Linked DNA regions of Homo sapiens: region 1 is linked to region 2. The links are contacts of gene promoters, found by promoter capture Hi-C in blood cells and fetal thymus (Javierre and others, 2016). All regions are on one chromosome and are shown on one strand. Each heading gives the region's core, a stretch centred on a gene start or on the middle of the fragment in contact. The rest is flanking DNA. Distances are from core to core; before and after follow the strand shown.

The links. The method cuts DNA at HindIII sites, captures the fragments that hold promoters and counts their contacts. A CHiCAGO score of 5 or more calls a contact.
Region 1: a contact is called between a fragment that was not itself captured here and the fragment with the promoter of ADRB2 in region 2, in 4 of 17 cell types (megakaryocytes, neutrophils, monocytes and 1 more). The highest score is 6.8, in megakaryocytes.

What each region holds. Positions count from the first base shown.
Region 1 is chr5:149,036,435-149,043,713 of GRCh38, forward strand. It overlaps SH3TC2 (SH3 domain and tetratricopeptide repeats 2), which reads right to left. Exons shown (of 17, transcript NM_024577.4): 5 at 6,260-6,403; 6 at 4,982-5,183; 7 at 4,170-4,243; 8 at 1,861-2,056. Among named protein-coding and RNA genes, the nearest start is that of MIR584, 22 kb to the right of the region's middle. The HindIII fragment of the contact is 9,447 bases long and covers 817-7,279 here.
Region 2 is chr5:148,825,316-148,832,804 of GRCh38, forward strand. ADRB2 (adrenoceptor beta 2) reads left to right here and starts at 1,296. Exons shown (of 1, transcript NM_000024.6): 1 at 1,296-3,308. The coding sequence starts at 1,517. The coding sequence ends at 2,758. RefSeq lists enhancers at 595-754, 1,611-2,196 and silencers at 1,025-1,334, 1,425-1,564. The HindIII fragment of the contact is 9,818 bases long and covers 1-6,188 here.

The DNA of each region.
Region 1 (7,279 bases), core at 4,290-6,789, 220 kb after region 2:
CTTCCTCTGCTCTGTAAATGGAGGCATCCTCCAGGGTTCTTCCCCCATTCCTATTTTCCATCCTCTTTTTTCTTTCTCCCTTTCACTGGGACTTCTCACCAGAATGTATTGGATTTCATGTCAGGATTTAAAATCACCAGGACATTTAATGAGAGCTCACTGGATTTAATGTCAGGATTCTAAAGTTCCAGAGGGAAGGCCTTGGGTTCAGCTCCTTCATCCCTGGGGTCCTCTGTTCCCCCTGTGGTAACATGAAGGGGTGGTTCAGAGCAATGTTCTCACCTTGGTTGCCCACCAGCCCCACCTGGGGAGCTTTTATCAATATAATTGCCCAGCCTCCATCCAGACCAGTTACACAACAGCCTCTGGAGGCAGAACACAGGTGTCCATATTTGTAAAGCTCCTGGAATCTTTGACTTCCTGTCCATTGGTCCTCAGCAGTGGCCTTCCTCTCCATTCTCACCCTTTTCTAAGTGCCACCGTGGGCTTCTCGCTGGTCTCCTGCCTCCAGATTCCCCCTGATGATGCATGCCTCCCCCAAAGCCAGGTTTCATTTCCTAGAGAAAAGGTCCAGTCATATAATATGTCACCCTTGCTCAGAGACATGCAGTAGCTCCCCATTCTCTGCCAGGTTAAGGAAAGGGCCCTCACACAGGCATTCCCAGGTTTCCAGAGCATGGACCCACCTTTGCTGCACCAGTGACCTTCTGGTAACTTCCTCCAAACTACATGAGTCGTTCTTCAAGCACTGACTCACTTTCCTACCTATGACCTCTTTTCCCATCAACATCTGTTGAAATATTTTACATTGTGCAAAGCTTAATTCACATGTCCCCTTCTTCATGAAGTTCTCTTGATATCCTTTTCTTCCTTACAAGTCCCGATAGTTCTCCATACCTCTCCAGGAGCTCAGTGAGTGGTCTTCCTTGTTTATAGTTATTTGGACTCCCACATTTCTACATAGAAAAAAAATAACCTTCTGTCTCCTCCTCTCCCCACGAAGGGCAGGGCTTACAGGGAGCTTCTGCCCCTTGGTCTGCTCTCTTCATTGGCTATTTCCCACAAGAGAAAGAATTTAAGTCTCTGTTCAGATCGTTAGACATTTCTGGGGCCACATTTTCCCAGTGTAGGGCGCTATGTTGTGTCAGTGTTAGGAGCCAACTCTCCCTTTCCTCGTGTACTTCCTGCGCCCAGGCTTTCTACTGTTTCCTATCCCCACATAGGAAGCCCACTCCAAAAAGATGGAGCAATACCCGATATCTCTGTCCTTCCATGACAGGGTGGGTGGAGCAGGCTGATCACCTTCTCCTGATTGGCCAGGCAGATGGGTCTGCTCCTCAGAACCAGCCTTTCTGGATTCAAGGCAGAAAAGAGTAAGAGAAACACTCTGCCCTCCTAGCCAATGCTGAAGTCACACATTGGCATTCAGCTTGAAAGCTGAATGAGTGAAGATCTACATGGGACCCACCTCCCAGCCCTATGTGGGATCAGCATGCTGCTAATCTATTTCTCCCCGTGTGTGCCCTTCCTCTGAAGGGGCCCTGTGGTTAGACAGTGTGGGTAGCAGGATCCAAGTACCAAAACCACACCCTCAGTGCCTAACAGCATGCCCTTTGTCTTGGAGTTTTGCTTCCCTCCTTGCACAGAGGAAGTCCTCAGTGACCACCTGTTAAAATAAACTGAACTGACGCATTCTCTCCTTTCTATCACTCTCTGTATCAACCTTGGTGTCAGCATGTGCTTTTCTGGCTCCATGTCACCAGGGCACCCTCGAAGCTCAACTGCAAATCTGCTCAAAGAGGGGAGGGAACCCTGGGAAAGGGAGCCCAGCTCCAGGACATGCTCACTGTCAATACTCACATTGGGGAATAAGAATCAGGATCTATGTTCCTGGTGGGGACAAAGCCCACTTGTCCTGAACTTGTCGACTTTCCAATGAACCACTGAAGCCCAGGTATGACAAAGCCGATGATCTCAATGCTTTCTCCCTGGTAGAAATTCAGTTCATCCTTTTCTCCTGGCTCATAACCCGTCAAGGCCTTACAGCGTCCTCTGCCTGTGGAAAATAGCACACAGATCAGCTACAGAAGACATGAACAGCTGAGCCTCCCATCACCTTCCAATGCAATAGAAAATGAGGGGTTCCCAGACTTTAGAATGTCAAGGACCAGTAACATTTCACTCCCCTCCCCACCCAAAAATTGGCAGGAATGACACAGGACAATTTGCTTTTCATTTTGCCAAACTAGGACATATTTTTAAAAGAACTACAATCCACTTTCACCAAAGAAAAAATGTTTTAACAAACACAAAAAAAGATTCTCAGATAGCGGATATGCCTTAAAAATGAATAAACATAGCTTATGGGAAACTGGAAAGCTCACTGTATTGTCCTGGTTTGTCTGATTTTGCCACTGTAATGTAAATGCTTTGTCATGGTTGGCACAAATCCACAGACCAGTGTGTGAGAACCACTCGACCAGAGAAGCTCTCCATGTCCTTCCAGCTCCTTTGGCCTCTATGACCCTCAGTCTCCCCAACTGGAAAATGGGGATAATAGGAATACCTGCTGCTTATAAATATTAAAGAGAATCAAAGAGATACAGTGCACAATGCCTGGTACCTGGTCAACCCTCAATAAACATTAGCCTTATTACCACTGGTGGAATAGAAAGCTGCTAATGACTTAGAAGGATCTAAAAGACTCCCTTTCAGACTATGGTACTCAATCTGATAAATTGCCTACCTAGGATCTAGCAATGACCTTTTGATGAATGTTTTTCTGTCCAGTTTACAAAGTACAATTTGCACTCACTTTCTCAGGTCTTCTCAAGAGCTTCAAAGGGCACGGAAACTATCAGAATCCCCTTTTCCCAGGTTACGGAGGGAGAGAGAGGGTATGAGATTTGTCTAAGGATCTTATGCATGGCAAAACTGAGTCTAGAGCTTAAGTCTTCAGGCTGCTGGTTAGCCTCTCCATTAATCCTGGTGGAGATAAAGGCTTTTATGTGCCTCAGTTTCCATATTTGCTTTAGCTTCTCTGCTAAAGCTACTAGCCTATTTTTTCTGACATTTTTGGTCAAGTTTCTAGATTGTGTTTTCAAGATCAGAAATTCTCACTATTTTGTGGGTCGATGGGATCTACCATGTGTTAAATATCTACATTGTAAGAGAAACTGTGCAAAGTGATTTATGGATGTCATTTTGTTTGGTTCTCATAACAACATTTAAGTTGGTTTTATTGTATCATTTTACTAATGAGGAAGTTGCAACATAGGGCAGGTGGATTGGCCAAGATCACACTGGTTTTAAGTCAAGGAGCCAGAATTTGAACCAGAATAGACTTCAAAGCCTTGCGTTCTAACTACAAGGCTGTACTGCTTTAGGAAGCTAAAAATCTTGTTTGTCATCAGTAATTTATTAGATCTGATGTCTGGGTTCCATAATCCTATTTCTTTTTTTGTGTTATTTGGGCTCAGCACTTATAAAATTGTACTTTGTGGTAGGAGTGTGTGGGAGGGAGGTGAAGGGGAGTTCTAAAGATGAAGATGAACAGAAGGTATTTCTAGATGTCTAAAAAGTGTTGGACTTCATTATCCAGTAGATATGGATCTACAGTACTTACAGATATGTGTGTATACACACATACAGATTACTTAAATTGTGTGTGTGTGTGTATATAATTCATTTATTCAACAAATTTTTACTGAGTACCCTTATGTGCCAGGCATTTCTACTCTTCCTAAATTCAAAGTTAATTTTACAAAACTCTAAGGGAAATTAGAAAATGTTTTGACCAGAGATTGAAACAGGCAGCCCACAGGCCGCATTTGGCTCACGAAACATTTAATTTGGCCCTGTTTTTTCACTCATATATCTTAAAATCCCTAATTATTCCTGCCATTCCCTAATACCTTCCATCCAGGCCCCCTAGCATCTGTGTGTCCTGCCCACACCTGCAGGCATTTGTAGCTGCCCCCTGGATTGAGACCTCTCATTTCACAGGCAGGGAAAACCATGTGCACAGACAGAAACTGGCTTCCCTAAATCCAGTTCCTAGCAGAGACGAGACAAAAATTCACATCAACTGACTCCAAACCTGCAGATAAAATTGAGAGGCAGGACAACATTATCTCCCTAACAATACTATGTTTTTGACTCAGCCATACCAATCTGATAGGAGCCTGTCCAATCCCTCTTCCTGGAAAGGCCACAGCTTCCTGGATAATTCTTTAGGAACCACCTGCCAATGAAAACATGGGGTTTGCAAACACAGATTTCAAAAAATTGCAACAATGAACAGAACAGTCTATCAGAATAATGATGATGATGATGAGTATTGTTTTTTCTCTTATTTAAATGATGGCAAAAGTTTATTGAGAACTTACTTTCTACCAGGACCTGTGAAAAGGTGAGAAGTTAGTAGACCTGGGATATTTTGTGGCTCCGAAAGTAGTTTGTCAGTTAAATAACTAACAAACAATCCCTTTACACTTGAACTGTCAGATCTCTGCCAGAGCCACACAGGTCCATGGTGTGGGGTAATGTTTACTGTCAATCTGTATATTTAAGTTTAATCATATCTTCCAGCAGGATTTCTTAAACTTTAGTGTGAAAAGCATCTCCTAGGAAGTTTATTTAAAATGAAGATTCCTAGACTCAACCCCAAGAAAGTCTAAGGAGGCCCAGACAAGTGGTCCCCAGTCCATACATGGAGAAACACTACATTGGCGGTCGTGTGGTATATTTGCTGCTAGGTACAATGCCCATCTGAAATTTAGAGTTGTCTCCAATTTCATCAGATTGTTAAAATTCTTGGTTGTTAAAAAAGAAAAGAAAAAGACAGAAAGATAAAGACCCACCCAGAATCTGTTCTCTCCTCCACACTATGGATGCCCATATCTGAAAGCATGCCTACTCTGTTCTGTGCAAACCTCAGTCTGCTCTGGGACTTGCTCCCAGGAGGCAGATGGCTACTCACTGGTGGAAAGGGAGAGGCAGAGGCTCCAAGGCTGACACCAGTACCAGGCCCCGCTGACCTGTCACCAAAGACACGCCTTCCAACTCGGAGCCAGCTTCTGCCATCTTCACTGAGATTAACTCATTCTTGCAAAGTGTCAAGCATTCCCCTTCCTTCTCGGCTGGTGGAGTCACGGAGCACAGGGCTCTGCAGAAGAAGTGGCCTGTGGATAATGAGAAAAGCAATGGCTTTCTAAGGAGTAGCAGGAAGTGAAAACGGATTATCACACAAAGTAATGCTTCTATTCAGAGCTGGAGTACTTTTCTTCCTGGAAGTAAAGTAGACGTTTCACAGGGGAGACACTAAAAGAGGCCTTATGATCCCAGGAACACTGATACCAGGAAGAAAAAAGCCATTGAGAGGGAATTCAGTTAAAACAGACACCAACATTTCTAATAATCTATGAGAAAAAGGCTTAATTGGGACTTTATCTTGAAAAAGAGATGAAAACTTGTGAAAATATATTTATATTTAATAGAATTTCATTTATTGTTGCAACCTCATGATTAAAATTAGAACCAAAAAAGAATTGATTAAATTAGTTTGGGTGAATATAATTACTCCAATAAGTTTTATAATAGCATGATATTAAATTCTTTCCTTCATGCAATATTTCTGCAATGCAATCATAAGAGTCCTTTTTGCAAAAATATCATATGCAAATCTGGCTCTTTCCACGTGTCTGTGATGTCATCAGGCTTATCCACCTCATAGTTGTTAATTGGTAGATGATAACCTTGATGGGACTCTCACCTATAAACAGATCAAGAGGTGCTCCAAGAGGTTCCTCAACATCACTTTCCTCACTTTCATAAAAAACTTCAAGTTTTGCAACATTTGCAACTTTATTTTACAATCAAATTTTATCACGTTTGGAAAAGGGTTTCTCGATTTTGGGTAGACATTAGACTTATGTGGAAAACTTTCCAAAATATGCCAATACTTGGGCCTTCACCTTCAGAGATTTAATGGGCCTAAGTGGAGCCCTGGCTTGGGTATCTTAGTAAAACTCTCCAAGCAGTTCTAACATCAATCAGTGAGACTGACCAGCACAGCTGTTCGTGTAATGTCAGTGTTGAACTCAGAGGAATGTTCAAAGTACTATTATAACAGGTGGGTTCATTTGTGAATATTCCATGTTTGAATGATTTTTCCCTCCCTTTGCATCCTGCTTATTTCATGGCCTCTGGTAGCAAATATCTGAATAAGATCCCATCTCTACCCCTATGCCACACTCACCTTCCTGTATCAGGAGTCCCAGGTATATTGTTTCCAGGTGTTTATCATCTACAGACACTTGGATCTCTGTATCCTCCACCAATATGCAGTTGAGCCAGTACTTGTGGTCAAAGAGGAGATGTTCTAGACACATGGATACGTAGCCTAAGAAGTCAAGCCAACAAGATTTCTGAACAAAATGATTTCTGACATAGCTGAGCACAGAAGAGAGTGAGAAAATTCCCTCCTGAGCTTGATTCCCAGACCACAAGCCCCAACCTGCCATTTAACTGGAATTAAAACAACATAAGAGGCAAAGCCAGACATTTTCTAGAATGAGTTGAGTCTTCTCAACATCTATTGGGAAATACAAGTCATTTCTAAATGTTATTTACCATTTCAACATATTGTGAGTTTCCATAAATGCATAATGAGATGACCAAAACCAACTGCCTTTTTCTAATACAGCCACGGAGGTCTCCAAGTTTACAGTGTTGACTATGGGGGTTCCTAGTGCCCCCTTAAAGTTCTCCTGACCTGAGGTTCAAACTACTGTGTCCCTGATGATGCAGTGGCTGAGGAGGTTCTACATGGCTCCCCCTCAGTGAATTTCAGGAGTCAGGATTTCCTTCCACCCACCAGCTCTGACCCTGCCCCTCCTCCAATGCCCAGAAGATCTCTCTGGTAAAAGCAGACTAAAAACTATGTAAATTGTAAAACTCTAATAATTATATATAGTATTTTAAACATGGCTATAAACATGAACTACTCGTATTGCTTCTCTTGAGGCTTCTTCTGTTTCCTAAGATGCAAAAGCCTGTCTGTTTCTATCCTGACTGTCCATTGTGCTGATCTAGGCCTTATGTATCTTCTATAATTGCACTTTTGAATTTTAATGTGCACACAAATCACATGGGGATCTTATTAAACTACAAATGCTTAGTAAAGGTCTGAGATAGGGTTGAGCTTCTCCTTTTTTTTTTTTTTTTTAACAGACTCTATGTGCTGCCAACGAGCCGGTCTATGGAGCACAGTTTGAAT
Region 2 (7,489 bases), core at 46-2,545:
GGCTAATTTTTGTATTTTTAGTAGAGACAAGAGTTACACCATATTGGCCAGGATCTTTTGCTTTCTATAGCTTCAAAATGTTCTTAATGTTAAGACATTCTTAATACTCTGAACCATATGAATTTGCCATTTTGGTAAGTCACAGACGCCAGATGGTGGCAATTTCACATGGCACAACCCGAAAGATTAACAAACTATCCAGCAGATGAAAGGATTTTTTTTAGTTTCATTGGGTTTACTGAAGAAATTGTTTGAATTCTCATTGCATCTCCAGTTCAACAGATAATGAGTGAGTGATGCCACACTCTCAAGAGTTAAAAACAAAACAACAAAAAAATTAAAACAAAAGCACACAACTTTCTCTCTCTGTCCCAAAATACATACTTGCATACCCCCGCTCCAGATAAAATCCAAAGGGTAAAACTGTCTTCATGCCTGCAAATTCCTAAGGAGGGCACCTAAAGTACTTGACAGCGAGTGTGCTGAGGAAATCAGCAGCTGTTGAAGTCACCTCCTGTGCTCTTGCCAAATGTTTGAAAGGGAATACACTGGGTTACCGGGTGTATGTTGGGAGGGGAGCATTATCAGTGCTCGGGTGAGGCAAGTTCGGAGTACCCAGATGGAGACATCCGTGTCTGTGTCGCTCTGGATGCCTCCAAGCCAGCGTGTGTTTACTTTCTGTGTGTGTCACCATGTCTTTGTGCTTCTGGGTGCTTCTGTGTTTGTTTCTGGCCGCGTTTCTGTGTTGGACAGGGGTGACTTTGTGCCGGATGGCTTCTGTGTGAGAGCGCGCGCGAGTGTGCATGTCGGTGAGCTGGGAGGGTGTGTCTCAGTGTCTATGGCTGTGGTTCGGTATAAGTCTGAGCATGTCTGCCAGGGTGTATTTGTGCCTGTATGTGCGTGCCTCGGTGGGCACTCTCGTTTCCTTCCGAATGTGGGGCAGTGCCGGTGTGCTGCCCTCTGCCTTGAGACCTCAAGCCGCGCAGGCGCCCAGGGCAGGCAGGTAGCGGCCACAGAAGAGCCAAAAGCTCCCGGGTTGGCTGGTAAGGACACCACCTCCAGCTTTAGCCCTCTGGGGCCAGCCAGGGTAGCCGGGAAGCAGTGGTGGCCCGCCCTCCAGGGAGCAGTTGGGCCCCGCCCGGGCCAGCCCCAGGAGAAGGAGGGCGAGGGGAGGGGAGGGAAAGGGGAGGAGTGCCTCGCCCCTTCGCGGCTGCCGGCGTGCCATTGGCCGAAAGTTCCCGTACGTCACGGCGAGGGCAGTTCCCCTAAAGTCCTGTGCACATAACGGGCAGAACGCACTGCGAAGCGGCTTCTTCAGAGCACGGGCTGGAACTGGCAGGCACCGCGAGCCCCTAGCACCCGACAAGCTGAGTGTGCAGGACGAGTCCCCACCACACCCACACCACAGCCGCTGAATGAGGCTTCCAGGCGTCCGCTCGCGGCCCGCAGAGCCCCGCCGTGGGTCCGCCCGCTGAGGCGCCCCCAGCCAGTGCGCTCACCTGCCAGACTGCGCGCCATGGGGCAACCCGGGAACGGCAGCGCCTTCTTGCTGGCACCCAATGGAAGCCATGCGCCGGACCACGACGTCACGCAGGAAAGGGACGAGGTGTGGGTGGTGGGCATGGGCATCGTCATGTCTCTCATCGTCCTGGCCATCGTGTTTGGCAATGTGCTGGTCATCACAGCCATTGCCAAGTTCGAGCGTCTGCAGACGGTCACCAACTACTTCATCACTTCACTGGCCTGTGCTGATCTGGTCATGGGCCTGGCAGTGGTGCCCTTTGGGGCCGCCCATATTCTTATGAAAATGTGGACTTTTGGCAACTTCTGGTGCGAGTTTTGGACTTCCATTGATGTGCTGTGCGTCACGGCCAGCATTGAGACCCTGTGCGTGATCGCAGTGGATCGCTACTTTGCCATTACTTCACCTTTCAAGTACCAGAGCCTGCTGACCAAGAATAAGGCCCGGGTGATCATTCTGATGGTGTGGATTGTGTCAGGCCTTACCTCCTTCTTGCCCATTCAGATGCACTGGTACCGGGCCACCCACCAGGAAGCCATCAACTGCTATGCCAATGAGACCTGCTGTGACTTCTTCACGAACCAAGCCTATGCCATTGCCTCTTCCATCGTGTCCTTCTACGTTCCCCTGGTGATCATGGTCTTCGTCTACTCCAGGGTCTTTCAGGAGGCCAAAAGGCAGCTCCAGAAGATTGACAAATCTGAGGGCCGCTTCCATGTCCAGAACCTTAGCCAGGTGGAGCAGGATGGGCGGACGGGGCATGGACTCCGCAGATCTTCCAAGTTCTGCTTGAAGGAGCACAAAGCCCTCAAGACGTTAGGCATCATCATGGGCACTTTCACCCTCTGCTGGCTGCCCTTCTTCATCGTTAACATTGTGCATGTGATCCAGGATAACCTCATCCGTAAGGAAGTTTACATCCTCCTAAATTGGATAGGCTATGTCAATTCTGGTTTCAATCCCCTTATCTACTGCCGGAGCCCAGATTTCAGGATTGCCTTCCAGGAGCTTCTGTGCCTGCGCAGGTCTTCTTTGAAGGCCTATGGGAATGGCTACTCCAGCAACGGCAACACAGGGGAGCAGAGTGGATATCACGTGGAACAGGAGAAAGAAAATAAACTGCTGTGTGAAGACCTCCCAGGCACGGAAGACTTTGTGGGCCATCAAGGTACTGTGCCTAGCGATAACATTGATTCACAAGGGAGGAATTGTAGTACAAATGACTCACTGCTGTAAAGCAGTTTTTCTACTTTTAAAGACCCCCCCCCCCAACAGAACACTAAACAGACTATTTAACTTGAGGGTAATAAACTTAGAATAAAATTGTAAAATTGTATAGAGATATGCAGAAGGAAGGGCATCCTTCTGCCTTTTTTATTTTTTTAAGCTGTAAAAAGAGAGAAAACTTATTTGAGTGATTATTTGTTATTTGTACAGTTCAGTTCCTCTTTGCATGGAATTTGTAAGTTTATGTCTAAAGAGCTTTAGTCCTAGAGGACCTGAGTCTGCTATATTTTCATGACTTTTCCATGTATCTACCTCACTATTCAAGTATTAGGGGTAATATATTGCTGCTGGTAATTTGTATCTGAAGGAGATTTTCCTTCCTACACCCTTGGACTTGAGGATTTTGAGTATCTCGGACCTTTCAGCTGTGAACATGGACTCTTCCCCCACTCCTCTTATTTGCTCACACGGGGTATTTTAGGCAGGGATTTGAGGAGCAGCTTCAGTTGTTTTCCCGAGCAAAGTCTAAAGTTTACAGTAAATAAATTGTTTGACCATGCCTTCATTGCACCTGTTTCTCCAAAACCCCTTGACTGGAGTGCTGTTGCCTCCCCCACTGGAAACCGCAGGTAACTACTTGTAATTACTGCCCATGACTTAATGTAGAATGATACAAGAATGACATGCACAGATTGCTTAACCCTTTCATTTGCCTTTGAGTCTGCTGCTGCAAAGCTGCATCTCTCCTGACACTTGTGCCCCAAATCAGTTCTGCCTGCTCTTAGTATAGCTCAACTCTCCCTATGGTTATTGTTCTGTGTTGTTACCTCAGAAACACTGACTCACAGAAGCGGAGTTAAGGGGATATGTTTTTTTCTCTCCACGTGCACCCACCACCCACCTTCCAGTTCTACTTGTTTCAAAACTGTTTATATTTCTGTCTTGGCCATGTGTTACAGTGGAGCTCTTTGTACTGCATCAGGGCTTGGCATTTTAGGGATAAGGAAGATGTTCTTATGAGGAAGCTACTCAGACATGGCCCCGTAATTCTGAGGGAAAATTCAAAAGGCATTGGTCATGGGGAGAAAAGCTGGAGAACACATAACTGATGGATACCTCATGAACTAGAAACAGAATTTTAACCCCTTTTCCTTCTTTCCTTTGGTCCCTGTTTTCTTCTCCCACTGACTCTCCTCGATTCAGTGTAAACCAAGGTTCTGAGTCTTAGCACTGTTAGCATTTTGGACCAGATAACTCTTTGTTATGGGGGCTGCATCATTGTATGTGTAGCACCTCTGGCCTCTGTTCATTAGATGCCAATAGCACCCCCTGCTTATAACAAGCAAAAATGTTTCCAGACATTGCAAAAGAGCCCCTGAGGTGCGAATTAGCCCCTGGTTGAGAGTCACTGGTAGAAACTGTAAAAATCTCAGCAGATACATACATTCTTTCTAATGCAAGCGCTTGATTGTGCAGAGCCTTAGAGAGGGATTTTCACAGTTCACCTAGGCAGTAACAGACCCTCACCAGCACTCTTTCCATTCCATCATGCTGCCTTCTAAACTTGTTTTCTAGCTGCCCAAATAGTGATCATGAAATGTTAAGAAGGCTTTAAGTCTGTACATGAATTGTTTGAGAGGGTTTATCAATGGAGGTGAGGCCTGTGGGCCATGACTCCTGTTTGTGAAGAGATTATAATACTGTCAAGAGGCACGTTAGGGGAAATCACAAAAGTAAACACATTTCTTCTCCCAGCCCCTTTCTATTTTTGCCTGTGTGTCTGAGCCAGAGCTTGGCCCAGGTTTGATGAAGTGGATCGTCCTCCTTGGCAACGCCAGGCTAGAGCAGATCAGCCTGCAGGGTTCATTGCCATTCCACTGGCTCATGAAGCTGACTCCACTCCCCTCTTCCTTTCTGTTGCAGCCAAGGTCCCCAACCAGAAAAGCATTGGCCTTCTCTGCTTCCTGTCAACTCAATGATGGGATGTTTGGGTGAGCACCGAGCTATCAGGAGAAGGTTAGGCGCCTGTGATTTTGGAACATGCCATGGCAAATTGGAGAATGTGTGTCATTCAGTGCTTTTACTTTTTTCCAAGGGTTTTCATACCTATTGAAAACCCTTATTACACATTATCACCTTCTCTTTCTACTGCTATTATCACATTCTCTTTCTACTGCTCTGGTCTCCACACTCAGAGATTTGGGCAGCTTCTTTGGCTAATATTCATGCTCCCTGTAGCCTCATAAGATCTCAGACATGGAAGAGCCCATAGAAAGTATTTAACATCTGATGAGACTGAAACGCTGTGAGGTGAAGGGCTTGCCCAAGGTAAGCAGCCAAGGATGTCAGAGTGGGACTCAAGCCAGGGAACCCAACTGCTATTCCAGGAACTGCTGCATTCTCTCCACCACATTAGCATTGCGTTCTTTCCTCACCCTCAACTGGGGCTATAACATAACACATTCATTTCAGCCAATATATTTTTCTTTTGTCCTTAACACAAAATTTAGAGCATAAACAAATAATCTGCAATAGAGACAAAAGAAATAATTGTTCATTTAACTCAACAAGCATCCACTAGGATATCTTCTGCATTTAGGGAAGCTGGGAGATTCCTTAGCTCTTTATAACCAGATGTCGGTGTTGTATATATACTCTTTTGCCTAAAGGAATGTCTAATGTAATTTCTGTTAAAATTCAGGTATTAATGTTAATTCAGATTCCCAGCTAAAAGGAGAGTTTAACCATATTCACGTTCCTTTAGGAATACTGTAGACACAAGAACCTTGATTAGTTTTAAGGGTCCTGATAAGCAAGAGCATTCTAGGCATATCTTAATCCTTTGCTTTCTACCTCTTTGGTGTGTTGCTTTGTTTCTTTTGAGGGGTTGGCTTTTGTCAGTGTCCCTTCGTCTCTCTGTTTGCTGACATGCTGGCCACCTAAGGTTTGTGTTGTATTCCTCATCGTGAGTTTTTTTTTTGCCTGGACAGCAAGTTCTCAGAGTCTGTCAAATAAGAAGAACTTTTTTCTAAGATGCAAGCTGAGAGGTGTGAACAGTGGCAGGACAGGGTGAGCCTCCCCACTGCAATAATTAATGGGATAAGGAATCTGGAGAAAGGGGAGCTTGAGAATAGGAACTGTCTTTACATGATTCTTAGAATGTTTCTTATGGTGAACCTATTGCCAAATGGAGCCTAAACCAGAATCAGTCAGAAAGTATTTATGGAGCACCTACTGTATGCAGCATGAGAAAAGTATAGGTTTCCATTTCTGCCTTTTGGATCATGATATTAAGGATACTAAGCAGATACCTTTTATGGAATCTTACTAAAAGTTAGTGACTATGTTAGACACCTGTTAGGCGTTATGTCCTCACAACTGTATGATGTAGGTAGCATAATTGTCCTCATCTAACAAATGAGGGAGCTGAGGCTCAGAAAGCTTCAGTAACTTTCCAAAGCCATACAACCAACTAGTTGCAGAGTCAGGACGAGAACCCAGGTCTCTGTGATTCCAGGATCCATGGAGCCTAGCACCCAGGCAAACCAGGAAGCAGCACGAGGTAGCTTAGAATCTGTGCCAGAACAAGTGTAAGAACTGGAAATGCAATACTTTGTTGAGAGAAGACGGAGACTGCTGTGGGTTGAGGCAGGGAGGAATGTTCCCTTCCAAGCATGTGACTGCAGGGTTTCTGGGGACTGACACAAAAAACCAATCACTGAAGTGCCTAGTTTGCTTCTCCAAGTCTTTGTTTTGTCTTCTCATCAGAGAATCAGACCAAAATGGAAAGAGGATATGAAACTCTAAAACGAACACAGCAGAGTAAAGCAGAAACACAGGCTGCCCTACGTCCTGGCACTCTTTCTCAGCTCCAAAGTTGGGAAGGCCTCCTAAATTGAGTGGGTAGCCAGACCTTATGGAAATTTGATAGGCCTGGGTAGCCATATAGGTATGTTTTCCATCTTGAGCTAGCATTCTAGATCAAAGGAGATGATTTTCTGACAGCAGAGAGCAAGGAAGCTTAATATGCTTTGAATGATACTTTCCATTGACAGTATAACCTCTACTAAATTCAGTCTGTGCTAATCCATACTTCACTGACAGTGCAAATATAATTTGAAGGAGGGATTTTTCTAAATGCGTAAGAGAACAAACTTCCTAAGCACTTTCAAGAACTTGAGAAATTCTGGTGTTTTGTGAATAATAGGAGGCAGGGTGAGGTGAAAAGAGCCCCCCTCCAACCTCCCACCCACCACCCCACTCTCTCTCTCTCTGAAGTTGGGTGAGGCGGTTTTCTTCAGCCGACTTCCGTTTACTCATCTGTAATTTGAGGCCAGTACAGGTGGTATCTAAGCTCTGCTCCCCTCTGAATTTATACAGTTGTTAATTTACAGGCTAGAGATAATCATTTATATTTCTAATTAGAGTTGATGACATTTGCCATATAAACAATGGTTGAATATTCTGAAGGTTGTCAGCCTGCAGAAGAGAATGCTGTGAAGTACTATTTGGTGCATGATAATTGCTTTTCAGTATGATCTAGGGGGGAAAAAAACAGATTTCTCGGTTCTGCATGAATACAAGAAGGCAAGCAGAACTTTACAGAAAGGCAGATTCTAGCTCGGGTATAGGAAGACTTTCCAAAGAGCGAAATAAATGATCTATCAGAATTGTGAACCTCCCGTTTTTGGAAGCATTCAAGAGAAGCCCAGATGAAGCTGAAGCTCTGTTCAGGATGAA